5 separate regions of the Homo sapiens genome follow, and all the other regions are linked to region 2. The links are contacts of gene promoters, found by promoter capture Hi-C in blood cells and fetal thymus (Javierre and others, 2016). All regions are on one chromosome and are shown on one strand. The core of a region is centred on a gene start or on the middle of the fragment in contact, and the rest is flanking DNA. Distances in the headings are between cores, read along the strand shown.

Region 1 (2,700 bases), core at 54-2,553, 320 kb after region 2:
ATTTTTTGTATTTTTAGAAGAGATGGGGTTTTGTTGTGTTGGCCAGGCTGGTCTCGAGCTCCTGGCCTCAAGTGATCTCTCCTCCTTGGCCTCCTAAAGTGCTGGGATTACAGGCAAGAGCCACTGCGCCTGGCCTCCCATATATCTTGATAAGCTCCTCAAAAGCACAGAAATGGAATTTAATTGTGTCTGAAAGGATTATTTAGGACTCACTGGGTAGCAACACAAAGAATAGAAGGAAAAATATTTTTAAAATTTTAGGTTTTACCATACAAGCTTCTCTTGCTTGATGTATTGATGGATCTTTTTCTAATATAGATTTATAGTCTTCCAGGGCTTCATCTAGCTTGTCCGTCTTCTCATACAACTCTGCTCTCCTCAATATTGCCCTGATATAGCTGGGGTTTAATTGAATTGCTGTAAAAAGAGAAGAAATAATTTTTATCACAAAGAAAAATGGCCTACATATCTTTGGCTATATCAGATTCCTTCATCAATCATCCTCCAAGGATACGAAAGGAAGAGTCATTTGCCAAGTGTATACCTGATGCTGGAAAACTTTTTCTATAAAGAGCAAGATAGTAAAGATTGTAGGCTTTGTGGGTCAGACAGACCATCTGTGTCGCAGCTCCTCAATGATACTATTGTAGCACGAGAGCAGGCACAGATAATATGTAAACAAAAAAGGATAGGTGTGTTCCAATAAACTATTTATGGACACTAAAATTTAAGTTCACATAATTTTCACATTATCATGAAATATTTTGCTTTCCAATGATTTAAAACTGTAAAAACCATTCTTAGCTTTTAGGCTATCAAAAACAGGTGGCAGGCTGGATTTGGCTTGTGGCTGTAGTTTGCCATATCCTGGTCTATACTCCAAGTCCTGGTTTTTGCCTACTTGTCATTTACCCAGTCCAGGACAGGCCAGAACAGAGTTCAAGTGCGCAGTGAAAGAGTGAGAGAGAATTTTTTTTTTTTAGACGGAGTCTCGCTCTGTCACCCAGGCTGGAGTGCAGTGGTGTGATCTTGGCTCACTACAACCACCTCCTCCCAGGTTCAAGCGATTCTCCTACCTCAGCCTCCCACGTAGCTGGGATTACAGGCATGCGCCACCATGCCCGGCTAATTTTTGTATTTTTAGTAGAGATGGGGTTTCATTATGTTGGCCAGGCTAGGTGAGAGAGAATTTGAAGATACAAATTAAAGAGTTAAGGGAAACCAATCTGGTGGCAGACTATCATTCTCTTTTTTCTAGGTCTTGAGTACTAAGATTATATTTCTAGTTAAATCCTCACTGTTCCTTCAACCCTCAAACTACTGCTCCAGCACTATGAGGTGGTTGATGCATAATATCTTTTCCTTTATCCAGCATCAGCTGCCCTTCTAATAATCCTTTGCTATGTTTTGGTTCAACATACTGCATTTCTTCTAATTTCTTCCAAGTTGTTTCTTTTTCTATTAGAAAGCAGTGCTGGCCGGGTGTGGTGGCTCAGGCCCATAATCCCAGCACTTTGGGAGGCCGAGGCAGGCAGGTCAATTGGGGTCAGGACTTTGAGACCGTCAGCCTAGCCAACATGGCGAAACCCCATCACTACTAAAAATACAAAAATTAGCTGGGCGTGGCAGTGTGGGTCTATAATCCCAGCTATTTGGGTGGTTTAGGCATAAGAATCACTTGAACCCAGGAGGCGGAGGTTGCGTGCAGTGAGTGGCGATTGCATCACTGTACTCCAGCCCGGGCAACAGAGAGATAATACTCTGTCCCAAAAAAAAAAAAAAAAAAAAAAAAAAAAAAAAAAAAGCAATGTCTTGGCTCTAGAACTTTTTTCTTTTCTCATAATCTATCCTTAATTTTTAAATTCATGCTTTCTGTGAACATTTATTTAGTACTTAATATATACGTCCAATGTAGTATGTCTCTGGGCTATAGTGGGAAACAAGACAGACACAGTCCTTGTTCTCATGAAGCCTTATGCTATTCTAGTAGGCAAGAACAGACAGGTATATAATTTCAATAGCCATAGTACTATAATGAAAAATAAAACAAGGTCATGGAAATACAAGTGAAGCGAGAAATGAGGTAACTTCAGAAAGTGGTCTCAGAATATGAAGAGGGACTATGTGAGAGAGGCCAGCCATGTGAAAGGCTAAGGAGGAGCGTGCCAGGAAGAGGGACCAACAAGAATAACTCTGGCATGTGAGTTATCAGGCTGGGGATCAGAGGCTGAAATGTAGGGCCATGGAGGACCTTCCTGGCCAGGGAAAGGAGTTTGGACTTTTTCCTCAGTGTGATGAGAAGCCACTGGAAAGTTTTCAAGCAAGCTTCAGACATACTCTGATTTACATTTTTGAAGGACTGCTTTGGCTGTAGTGTTGGCGGGTGGGGCAAGACTGAAAGCTGTGAGATCAGCTGGAAAGCTAATGCAGTGGTCCAGATGAGAGAAGATGTTGGCTTGGTCTAAGCTGGAAGTAGTAGAGATGGAAAACAGCAGCCGGATTACATTAAATATGTCTTTAAATTTGAGCCCATGGAACTTGCTAATTAATCAATTAGCCATGTGACACGAAAGAACAATCAGGGATGACTCCAAAGGTTTAACTTAAGCAAGGGGACAGATGGTAATGTCATTTATTAGAATGGAAAAAACTAACTGCAAGTTTTGTGTGTGTGTGGGGGCTGGGCACGTTAAATCTGAG
Region 2 (2,700 bases), core at 145-2,644:
GAAACATCAGTTTCCCAGGCCTTCCCCTGACTGCCCAGTTTATACTTTAAGCTTTTCTTTTCTATAACACTCATTTCACTTGTAACCACTTGTGTCATCCCCAGCTGGAGGACTCTAAGTTTCATGAGGGTAGGCATCAAGCCTATTTGTTTCCCTCTATGTCCCCAGCACCTTGCTTGGGGACTGACACACAATGGATGCTTATTAAATATTTGTTGAATGAATGTTTGTTAAGCCTACAAACTTTCTTTCTCAAATAGTATTTATGTGATATTAGTAATAATTCCCTACATAGTTCAATGGCTTACCAAACATCTTTATGAGTTAGTGTCCCAACTTTGGGGTAAAGGCAGTGCAGGTAATATTATTCTCCCATTTTTTTTAGAAAATAAAACACCATCTGTGAGATTATCTGACTTGATTAAGGTGGTGGATACAACATTAGAATTCAAATGCATATCTGTATTAAAATTCTGACTGTAAATTTTGTGTCACTTACCAGCTGTTAACCAGATGCTCTGGCTGTGCAGAGTGAAATATGGGTAGCTAGTGGAAGAGAGCAGTGGAAGGAACAGGGAGAAGCAAAAGCCAGGCCTTGGAGGATTTCCTTTCCTCCAGTGCCTGCTTGATTCCCAAATAGGATTGCTTTGCCTATCCTGGGAGCTGAGACCCTCCATAAGTCTCTCAATGACTTGAGGCTGGGCCAGAGTGAGTGAGACCAGTGAATCCTCACCTTCTGGGGAGAAGAGAAATGAGAGCTGGTACACAGGGGAACTCACCCACACTAGTGTGTATGTGCACACTCACATCCGGACAAAATCCACACCAAGGCATGCATAGAAATCAACACATAGAATGAGCCACTGCACAGTCATACACACATTTAAACATACACCCCACATACAGATGTCAAACCAACACACAGAATGAGCCCCTGCACAGTCACACACACATTTAAACATGCACCCCACATACAGATGTCTAGCCACTATCGTGTACATCCAACCACTGATGTGCCCTCCAGTTTTACACCAAGCTGCCATCTTGGACATGTGCATGCATGTGTACATACACCGAACAGCCCTGATGAAAATTTGGATAAACGCACGTACGCACACACACAACTAAACACATCCCTATGATTTATCATCACACTCAAGTACATGCACACCTTTGCAAACGCGTGGGAAACAATCACTCTGATCACTCTGGCGCACAAAACCTCCAAATACGCTAACAAGCTCTACAAACGCAGAGATGCATCGACACACCCGAGTTGTCATCAGCACTGCAAGTTTTTTCCAAACAGCTGCTAAAAAGAGAATGCTGCGCTGCGGGCCAGCCCACGTGACCGGGAGGAAGGCTCTCCCGCCCATGACGGGATGGGAAAACTATGCCTGGGGCCGACGCTCTGCCCGGCTGCTGCCGCTGAGGAAAGCCGGGACGCGGAGCCCCGCCGAGAGCTTCTTTGCTCCGGACGCCCCTGGACGTGGCGGGCAGCCGCGAGGGTGAGTGTCCCGCACCGCGGTCGGGCGGGGGCGGCAAGTGCGCGCGGGGAGGAGGAGGAGGAGGACTCGCACTGCTGCGGGCGGGGCGGGATGCGGAAGGTGGGAGAGCTGCCAGCGCGCCTTTATTGCGGGCTGGGCAGCTCCTGCATTCCTGCCTCTCGACTTCTACCTTCGTATTATAATACAAATTAACATGTTTTGAGTCCTTACTGTGTGCCAGGCTCTGTGCCCAGTGGTTTACCCGTTACAATAGTAACACCCGTAGCTCTGCCATTTATTGAGCGCCTACTTTGTGCCAAGTCCTGCTAGCACTTTACTTGTGCTCTTTCATTTTCATGACAACAGATTATCCCCGTCTACAAAAGAGGAACTGGGCTCAGAGACATTAATGACTTGGACAGGGTTGCACAGCTAGTAATTGATAAAAAAGGGACTTGAAGTCTGGTAAATCTGAGTCCAATACCCGAGCTAACAATCACAGTTAACATTTACTGAATGCATTATTTCACTTAACCTTCACATTTATTTAAATATATGATACAGACTGGCAAACTGAGCTCAAAAGGTATTGAACGGCAGGCAGAGATTTGTACTCAATGCCTCATGACTCTCTTCACTCTCCTTCCCCACCTAAACTACTTGTCTTAATATGCTTTGTCCTTATTTCTCCATCCCCACTGCTGCTGCCCCATTCTAGGACCTCGCTTTTCAGCTAAATAATTGCAGTGGGCCCTAATAGTCTCCCAGCCCAGGTCTCTCCTCTGACACCATGAGTCCCTTGCATTACCTCATTGTGATCCTCCTCTGCTCCTTGACCACAAAATTGCCCTGCTTGGAAGCCTGCAGAGGTCCCTTCCTTAGACTGGCCATCTCTCAGAGACCCTGTGTTTCCACCATGCTGAAGTAGCAGTAATAGAAAGACAATGTCTTACATAGGTCAATCCAAGGCTGGTGCTCAGTTAGCACTGTTAAAAATCTGTCCTCTCACATCCTTATTTTTGCCCTCCCTCTGCACCATTCTCTAATTTATTCTGTCATCTGGAGTAATTATATCAATTACTCCTGCTTTCAACTGCCCGATCCTCAAACTCTCCACACATTTCCAAGCATCACTACAGCCCTTCATTGTAACACATCAGATTCACTGCAGAATTTGTTTCCTCCCAAATGTCTGACTTCTCCCCATCTCCTA
Region 3 (2,700 bases), core at 70-2,569, 340 kb after region 2:
TGTTGTTCTCATGATAGTGAGTTCACTTTCATGAGAACTGATGGTTTTCAAGTGCCACACTTTAAAACCATCAGCTTTCTCTTCACTTTCCGCCATGATTGTTAAGTTTCCTGAGGCCTCTATAGCCATGTGGAACTGTGAGTCAATTCAACCTCTTTTGTTTATAAATCACCCACTCTCAGGCAATTCTTAATAGCAGTGTGAAAATGGATTAATACAGGAACCAAAATAAAAACATTCTTTCTCTGGAAAAGATTTGTCAATATGCTATTGATGAGACCGGGTATTTCCCAAATGTCTTATTATTACACTATGGATTAAACAGAGCACTTGATGAATCTCAGTGAGGAAACTAAAAGGTAAGTATAGAGTGAATCTAATTTTTATGGTACATACTATGTGCCAGACACACAGCAGGTACAAATAACAATTCATTTTAAGATATAACGTATCTGAGGGAAGGGCTATTCTAAAGGAATTCAGAAAAAAATAAAATATAAGAATATGGCCATATTTACCTAGTACTACCCATAAGAAAGATGCTTAGATTGTAATGATCTCTACTGTATTGATTAGGGTTACTGGATGCAAGCAAAAGACTATCTTAAGCAAAAAACTTTAGGGGGCAGGTTTACTGGCAAGGTATCAGTGCTCACAGAATCAGTGAGAGGCTTAACGAATAGGCTTAGAAAGCAGGTAGAACTTGGCTGGGCGTGGTGGCTCACGCCTGTAATCCCAGCACTTTGGGAGGCTGAGGCAGGCAGATCATGAGGTCAAGAGATTGAGACCATCCTGGCCGACATAGTGAAACCCTGTCTCTACTAAAAATACCCCCCCAAAAAAAAAAATTAGCTGGGTGTGGTGGCAGGCGCCTGTAGTCCCAGCTACTCAGGAGTCTGAGGCAGGAGAATCACTCGAACCTGGGAGGCGGAGGCTGGAGTGAGTCAAGGCCGCGCCACTGCACTCTAGCCTGGCGACAGAGTGAGACTCCGTCTCAAAAAAAAAAAAAAAAAAAAAAAAAAAAAAGAAAGCAGGTAGAACTCAAGGAGGCTCTGTTAAGAAGCAGAATGCATGTCTTTTAGTGAAAGACTTGCCAGGACAGGGCTGCAATGACAGCAAATCAACTCTAACCATTCCATTGTCTTTGCTTCACTCAATCTAGATTTAAGATCTTGGTCAGAAGCATCTAATATACCAAGCATCGATCACAAGCCTTGGTTATCAGAGGATGAAGTGAGAGACATGGGGTACTGCCACTCAACAAGATCACAACACAAGAGAATTCCTCCAAATAGGAAGGGGTGTTGGATGTTGGAGAGCCAAGACAACATAACAAATTCAGTTAACAGTTATTTAAGAAACAAATTCTTTAGAGAGGGGTTAAATCATCAAGTTACTAGATCTTAATGCCCACTCTTTAAGAGTTTTCAATTTCTTTAGCATTGACTGTAAATCTTAAGCTATTTTCTGATCTATAATCTTCTCTTCAGAGCCAACTCATTAGGAATATTCTATGAACACAGATGAATCAATCAGATTGCCGGATTAGGCTCTTGTGAAGTAAGCGTGTGTATGTGTGTTCATGTTTTAGGAGACCAATCATTCTTTGGGAAATTTATAACATCAAGTTCCCAATGGGCAAAACCACGTCTCAAGTATACAGAAAGGAATCAGTGCTACGGGCCGGCCTGAGCAGCCAGCTCGAGAAATACTTACCATGTCTTTATTTTTATTTTCAGAGACAAGGTCTCCTTCTGTTGCCCAGGCTGGAGTGCAGTGGCACCATAAGAGTTTACTGTAAACTTGAACTCCTGGACTCAAGCAATCCTTTTGAGTAGCGGGGACTATAAGCAAGCACCACTGCCCCTAGGTAATTTCTTTCTGTTTTTAGTAGAGATGGGGTCTTACTGTGTTGGCCAGGTTGGTCTTGAACTCCTGGGCTCAAGCAGTCTTCTCATCTCAGCCTCCTAGTGTGTTGGGATTATAGGTGTGAGCCAGTGTGCCCAGCCCTCATCTTGCCTTTATAACTTGAAGGACTGAAAGTTGAGGTAGCAAAGCGAAAGGCTCCAGAATGTAATTCTGAGGTTATTTTTTATTTATTTATTTATTTTTTTTGAGACAGAGTCTCACTCCATCACCCAGTCTGGAGTGCAGTGGCATGATCTTGGCTCACTGCAACCTCTGCCTCCCAGATTCAAGTGATTCTTGTGCCTCAGCCTCCCGAGTAGCTGTGTTTACAGGCATGCACCACCACACCTGGCTAATTTTTTGTATTTTTAGTAGAGATGGGGGTTTTGCCATGTTACCCAGGCTGGTCTTGAACTCCAGGCCTCAAGTGATTCACCTGCCTTGGCCTCCCAAAGTTCTGGGATTACAGGTGTGAGCTAAGGTCAATTATTCTAAGTGAGGCATCCTATTGTTTCAACGGATAAATCACAACCCAGTGGCCCACTGAGTAGTAAACATTGAAAAAGAACTGCTGCTTCCCTCTCCACAGATTGTGCAAATTAAGAGTAATGCAATTATCAGTATCATGCTGAACATCTCCTTGGAAACAGCTAAAAATAGCACTTTGAGGAGAAAGTTGAACTATTTCCCAGCTGTGCCGAGACTGAATTGATGATCCCAGTACAAAGACTGGAGTTTTTTTCTGCTGAATACATTCTTTCTCCAAAGGATGACAGGTATATAGTACAATAT
Region 4 (2,700 bases), core at 113-2,612, 350 kb after region 2:
CCTTTTGGGATGTGATTAAGTCATAAGGGTTCCAACCTCATGAATGGATTAGTGTCCTAATAAAAGAGGTTGAAGGGAGCTGCCCTGCCCCTGCTGCCATGTAGGGACACAAATGGTGCCATCTGTAAGGAAGAGGCCCTCACCAGACACTAAAATTGCTGGCACCTTGATCTTGGACTTCTCAGCCTCCAGAATTATGAGCAATAAATTTCTATTATTTATAAGTTATCCAGTCTAAGGTATTTTGTTATAGCAGCTCCAACACACTAAGATAGAATTTTTGTATCATAATGTTATTATTGCAATTCTCTTCTGCTGCTACATTTGTCCTTCACCTTAGCCAAGCCTCTCAGAACCAGTTATTTGCTTCACATACCTAGTACATCTCAAATGTTAGCTAAAATTCCATTCCTGTGGGTAGTTATATCTACATTTAAGCTTTCACAAATAGTTAAGATTTACTGCTGAAATAAACACACGAATACACTATACTCTCTGAGAGCTTTTCCTGTTTTTACCAAATCTTAACTGCTTTCCTCCTCAATTATTCTTGATTTATGAGTCCTGCTGAGAAGTGACACTACACTTGAGCGTGAATTATCTTCCCAGCCACAGGACAAGTGAAGTTAGCTTGATTAACAGACTTTGGCTACTATTATTTGGTTGTGTCCAACAAGAAACCTTTAATACTACATAGACCCTGTACGGAATAGCACTTCTTTCCCAAATCATCAGGGGTCAGCTTCATGTGCTTTTGTGGTAGGGCACACAGTTTGGTTGTAAAGTAATCAATTTTTATTTATTTATATTCTTAAAATGGAATAATGTAATACAGGCTTACTGAAAAAAAAAGCAAATATTACAAAATTGCATTACATATAAATTAAAATTCCCTAATAATCATACCTCTCAAAGTTACTTACTGCTTATACTTTGGTGTATATCCTTCAAATTTGTATGTATAAACATATTTTCACATAGCCTTAAAAGAAATCATCACTGTTGTATAACCTGATTAATTAATTTGACATTATATTACAGGCAGCTTCCCAGGTCAATACCTACGATTCATCTTTTTAAAAAAATTTTTTAAATTATTTATTTATTTATTGAGACAGAGTCTCATTCTGTCACCCAGGCTGGAGTGCAGTGGCGTGATCTCGGCTCTCTGCAACCTCCGCCTCCTAGGTTCAAGCAATTCTCGTGCCTCAGCCTTCTAAGTAGCTGGGACTATAGGTGTGCACCGCCATACCTGGCTAATTTTTGTATTTTTAGTAGAGATGGGGTTTCACCATGTTGGCCAGGCTGGTCTTGAATTCCTGGTCTTGAGTGGTCTGCCCACCTTGGCCTCCCAAAGTGCTGGGATTATAGGCATGAGCCACTGCACCCGGCCAAGATTTACCTTTAACAACTGCATTGTATACTACATAAATATAACAACAAAATTTAAGTAATACTCTGGGAAGAACACATTTTTCTCTCCTACTATACCCTCCCAATAGGTCTGACACCAGATGAGAGTGTTTTCCACACTAAACAATTCTCCAATGGACACCAACGGAGTGTCCTATAATTCAATTCAGTTCTGTCACTATCTCCAGGTAGACAGTGTCTGATCCCACAGGTTAAGAGTTTAGTCTCATAAGCCTGGCCCCACTTCAGACACTAATCACAAGTCCCAGGTTGTGACCTATGATTCCGACTGAATGGTTAGCACAGGGTTCTTACCACCCTCTCTGTGGGTTCAATAATTTGCTAGAATGGCTCACAGAACTCTGGGAAACACTTTACTTACACTTAGTAGTTTATTACAAAGGACATTATGAATGATATAGAACAGCCAGGTGAAGAGACACACAGGGAAAGGTAGAGGGAGAAGGGGTGCAGAGCTGCCACGCCCTCTCTGGGTGCTACCCTCTTAACACTTCCATGTGCTCATCAACCTGGAAGCTCATCAGATTTCTAGTTCAAGAGTTTTTATAGGCCAGGCGCAGCAGCTCACACCTGTAATCCTAGCACTGTGGGAAGCTGAGATGGGAATATTGCTTGAGTCCAGGAGTTCGAGACCAGCCTGGGCAACATAGTAAGACTTCATTTCAAACACAAAAAAATTTAGCAAGGTGTGGTGGAAGGCGCCTGTGGTCCCAGCCACTTGGGACATTGATGTAGGAGGATTGCTTGAGCCCAGGAGGTTGAAGCCTCCAGTGAACTATGATCGCACCTCTGCACTCCAGCCTGGGCAACAGAGCGAGACTTGGCTCAAAACACAAGAAGAAAAAAGCTTTAATGGAGCTTAATCTCCAGCACTTGCCCTCCTCCTTTCCTGGATTTTGGTAGGTGGTGCCAAAAGTTCCAACCCTCTAAAACTCTAATCACTTAGTCTTTTTGGTGACTGGCCCCATCCTTCCTTAGGCTATAGATAGGCCAGATCCTAAAAGTTATCTCATTAGGATGAACTCAGGTGTTATCAAAAGGGGTACATTAAGAATAACAAAAAAATACACTACACTATCAGAAAATTCCAAGGGTTCTAGTGGCTCTGTAACAGGAACCAGGGACAAAGACCAAATAAATTTACTATACTACAAATACCCTGTTTAACATTGTCTAGCTTTCCAAAATTATGAATGATGCTGCAACACATCTATGTATATACATTTGTGTATATTTCTAATAATTTCCTTGAAATAAATGGCTACA
Region 5 (2,700 bases), core at 102-2,601, 370 kb after region 2:
CTCTGGGAAATAGGTCTCAAGTTGAAGAATATAGTAAGACTCAACATTCACTCAGCACTACAGAAGCCGATCCTGTGTAATTGAAAATGCGTAAGCTCTGCATTCGTGTGTGCTTACATGAAGATTACTTTGGTTCCCCTAACAGCTCTGAGCTAGACAAAGCAAGTATTACTTCCATTTTACCGAAGAGAAACTGAGGAAATTGAGAGCTGAAAGGACTTGATCAGGAAGACCACGATAGCTTATGACAGAGTTATATTTATAGCCGGAGGGACAAAGAGATCTCTGTCCAGTTCTTCATCTCATTTGTTCTATGAACTCCTTTGGTGGGCTGCTGAAGCCTCTGGATCGCTTCTCAGAGAAATTTTTTTAAATGCATAAAACAAAATATACTGGAATATGAAGGAAATAAATTATATTGAAATACAGTTCCTATAATACTAACAATAAAATTAGCAAGATATATATATCTACGTATCTACATATTCTGTTTGTCTACACACACACTCCTTTTTATTAACACATTAAGTATAGCAGGTGTAATAACTACCACAATTTTGAAGTAGTGATGAGTATATTCAATATTTCAAGTCATCTGAAACAACTGTAATATGCTATGAAATATCTGATATTCTTTTGGTGATAAAGTCAAAAGCTCTGCTAATATTACTATGTTCTATTGGCTAAGTTCATAAAAGAAGGAAAAACTAAATTTCAGTTAAAAGTTAGAGGCCAGGCGCGGTGGCTTACGCCTGTAATCCTAGCACTTTGGGAGGCCGAGGCAGGAGGATCACCTGAGGTCGGGAGTTTGAGGCCAGCCCGGCCAACATGGTGAAACCCCATCTCTACTGAAAATACAAAAATTAGCCAGGCGGGGTGGTGGTCATCTGTAATCCTGGCTACTTGGGAGGCTGAGGCAGGAGAATTGCTTAAAACTGGGAGGCAGAGGTTGCAGTGAGCCGAGATTGGGCCACTGCACTCCAGCCTGGGTGACAGTGCAAGACTCTGTCTCAAAAAAAAAAAAAAGTTAGTGAAGATAAGAATGTAATTTTCCCCCTATCTAAAGTCATGACCCTTCCCTCTAAATTTTATCCATTGTCCCTTTAGGGGTTTGTAGATCTCAAGTTAGGAACTCCTTATCTAGTCCAATCCCTCATAAAGCAGATGAACAAATGAGGTCCAGAGAGGGAATGTGATTTATCTAAGACATTTTAGCCACATAGCAGGGAATAAACTAGAACCCAGAGGTTGGTAATTCCTTCTCTATAAGGCTGTTATGAGGAATAAATGTAACAATATATGTAAAATCTTAGCACAGTACCAGTGACACAATAGGCATTTGTAGAAAACTGGCCACACAACACAGTAGAAGCAGAGAGATGAGACTTTCTGGAAATCTCTGTAACAGAGGGCAAACTCAGCTGTATGTGTCTTTTTGTTTGTTTTTATTTGATTTCAAAAATTCTTTTTGCCACACTGGAGGAGAATGTTTGTTTGTTTGTTTTTAGACAGTCTCACTTTGTCACCCAGGCTGGATTGCAGTGGCACGATCTTGGCTCACTGCAACCTCCGCCTCCTGGGTTCAAGCGATTCTCCTGCCTCAGCCTCCCAAGTAGCTGGGATTACAGGCACCCGTTACCATGCCCGGCTGATTTTTGTATTTTTCGTAGAGACAGGGTTTCACCATGTTGCCAGGCTGGTCTCGAACTTCTGACCTCAGGTGATCCACTGGCCTCAGCCTCCCAAAGTGCTGGGATTACAGGCATGAGCCACCACACCTGGCCAGTTTGTTTGTTTTTATAGACAGAGTCCCACTCTGTTGCCCAGCCTGCAGTGCAGTGGTGCAATCATAGTTCACAGCAACCTGCAGCTCCTGGGCTCAAGTGATCCTCTTGCCTCAGTCTCCTGAGTAGCTGGGACTATAGGGGCGTACCACCATGCCTGGATAATTTTTTGTTTTTAAATTTCTTTGTAGAGGGGATCTTGCTATGCAGTCCAGGCTGGTCTCAAACTCCTGGGCTCAAGCAACCCTCCCACCTTGGTCTCCTGAGTGGCTGGGATTGCAGGTATAAGCCACCACACCTGGCCCTGTATGTGCCTTTTGTCTTTGCCATATTTCTTCCTGCCTGGAAGAGGGACATTATGGCCACATTTTAAGGACAGAGTAGGGAAACACTAGAAGGGCCATGGGCCTCTCCTGACAGTGTGGATTTGCCATACTATCCCCACTGTCCCCAGACTGCCTACTTCCAGACTTCTCATATGAGAGAAAAAATAAACAAACAGCCCTTTTTGATTTGTTCAAGCCACTGTTATGTGTGTTCTGTTATGTGCAGCCAAACTCACTCCCCTAACTGATACACAGCTCTTCCTGGCTGGGTGACTTACTCTCTCTGAGCCCTAAGTCCTTCATTTAAGGTTTTTTGGTGAGGATTAGAAGATACAGAGGACTTAGGCAGTGCCTGGCACAGCAAAAAGCAGCTATTATTATTATTACTGTTTCAGTGGATTGCAGTTCAGTGCTCTTTCTACCAAATTGACTCACAGCTTAAAAATCACTCACACAGACTCAAAATCCCATTAAGCCCTCCCCAACCCCAGCCCGCTTTCTCCAGCTGCAGCTTTGGTCCACTGCCTCAAAGTCAGCCTGAGGAAATACTTACCATGTCCCAGGGAGAGGAACAGTTTATGAAAATGCTG

The links. Contacts are between HindIII fragments. The CHiCAGO score rates a contact against its expected background, and 5 or more counts as called.
Region 1: a contact is called between a fragment that was not itself captured here and the fragment with the promoter of C1QTNF2 in region 2, in 8 of 17 cell types (erythroblasts, megakaryocytes, M2 macrophages and 5 more). The highest score is 9.1, in erythroblasts.
Region 3: a fragment that was not itself captured here is called in contact with the fragment with the promoter of C1QTNF2 in region 2 in 12 of 17 cell types (M2 macrophages, neutrophils, endothelial precursors and 9 more); the score reaches 11.3 in M2 macrophages.
Region 4: a contact is called between a fragment that was not itself captured here and the fragment with the promoter of C1QTNF2 in region 2, in 3 of 17 cell types (megakaryocytes, endothelial precursors and M0 macrophages). The highest score is 6.8, in megakaryocytes.
Region 5: a contact is called between a fragment that was not itself captured here and the fragment with the promoter of C1QTNF2 in region 2, in 1 of 17 cell types (neutrophils). The highest score is 5.5, in neutrophils.

What each region holds. Positions count from the first base shown.
Region 1 is chr5:160,047,231-160,049,930 of GRCh38, reverse strand. It overlaps TTC1 (tetratricopeptide repeat domain 1), which reads right to left. Exons shown (of 8, transcript NM_003314.3): 6 at 269-417. It also overlaps a transcript of PWWP2A not described here. Among named protein-coding and RNA genes, the nearest start is that of TTC1, 39 kb to the right of the region's middle. The HindIII fragment of the contact is 2,049 bases long and covers 279-2,327 here.
Region 2 is chr5:160,369,320-160,372,019 of GRCh38, reverse strand. It overlaps C1QTNF2 (C1q and TNF related 2), which reads left to right and starts at 1,394. Exons shown (of 3, transcript NM_031908.6): 1 at 1,394-1,508. The HindIII fragment of the contact is 8,188 bases long and covers 54-2,700 here.
Region 3 is chr5:160,031,029-160,033,728 of GRCh38, reverse strand. All of the region lies in intron 2 of TTC1 (tetratricopeptide repeat domain 1), which reads right to left. Among named protein-coding and RNA genes, the nearest start is that of TTC1, 23 kb to the right of the region's middle. The HindIII fragment of the contact is 3,077 bases long and covers 1-2,700 here.
Region 4 is chr5:160,014,789-160,017,488 of GRCh38, reverse strand. All of the region lies in intron 2 of TTC1 (tetratricopeptide repeat domain 1), which reads right to left. It overlaps LOC124901124 (a long non-coding RNA gene), which reads right to left. Exons shown (of 2, transcript XR_007059025.1): 1 at 1-2,700. Among named protein-coding and RNA genes, the nearest start is that of TTC1, 7.0 kb to the right of the region's middle. The HindIII fragment of the contact is 1,843 bases long and covers 441-2,283 here.
Region 5 is chr5:159,996,047-159,998,746 of GRCh38, reverse strand. No RefSeq gene overlaps it. Among named protein-coding and RNA genes, the nearest start is that of TTC1, 12 kb to the left of the region's middle. The HindIII fragment of the contact is 3,133 bases long and covers 1-2,700 here.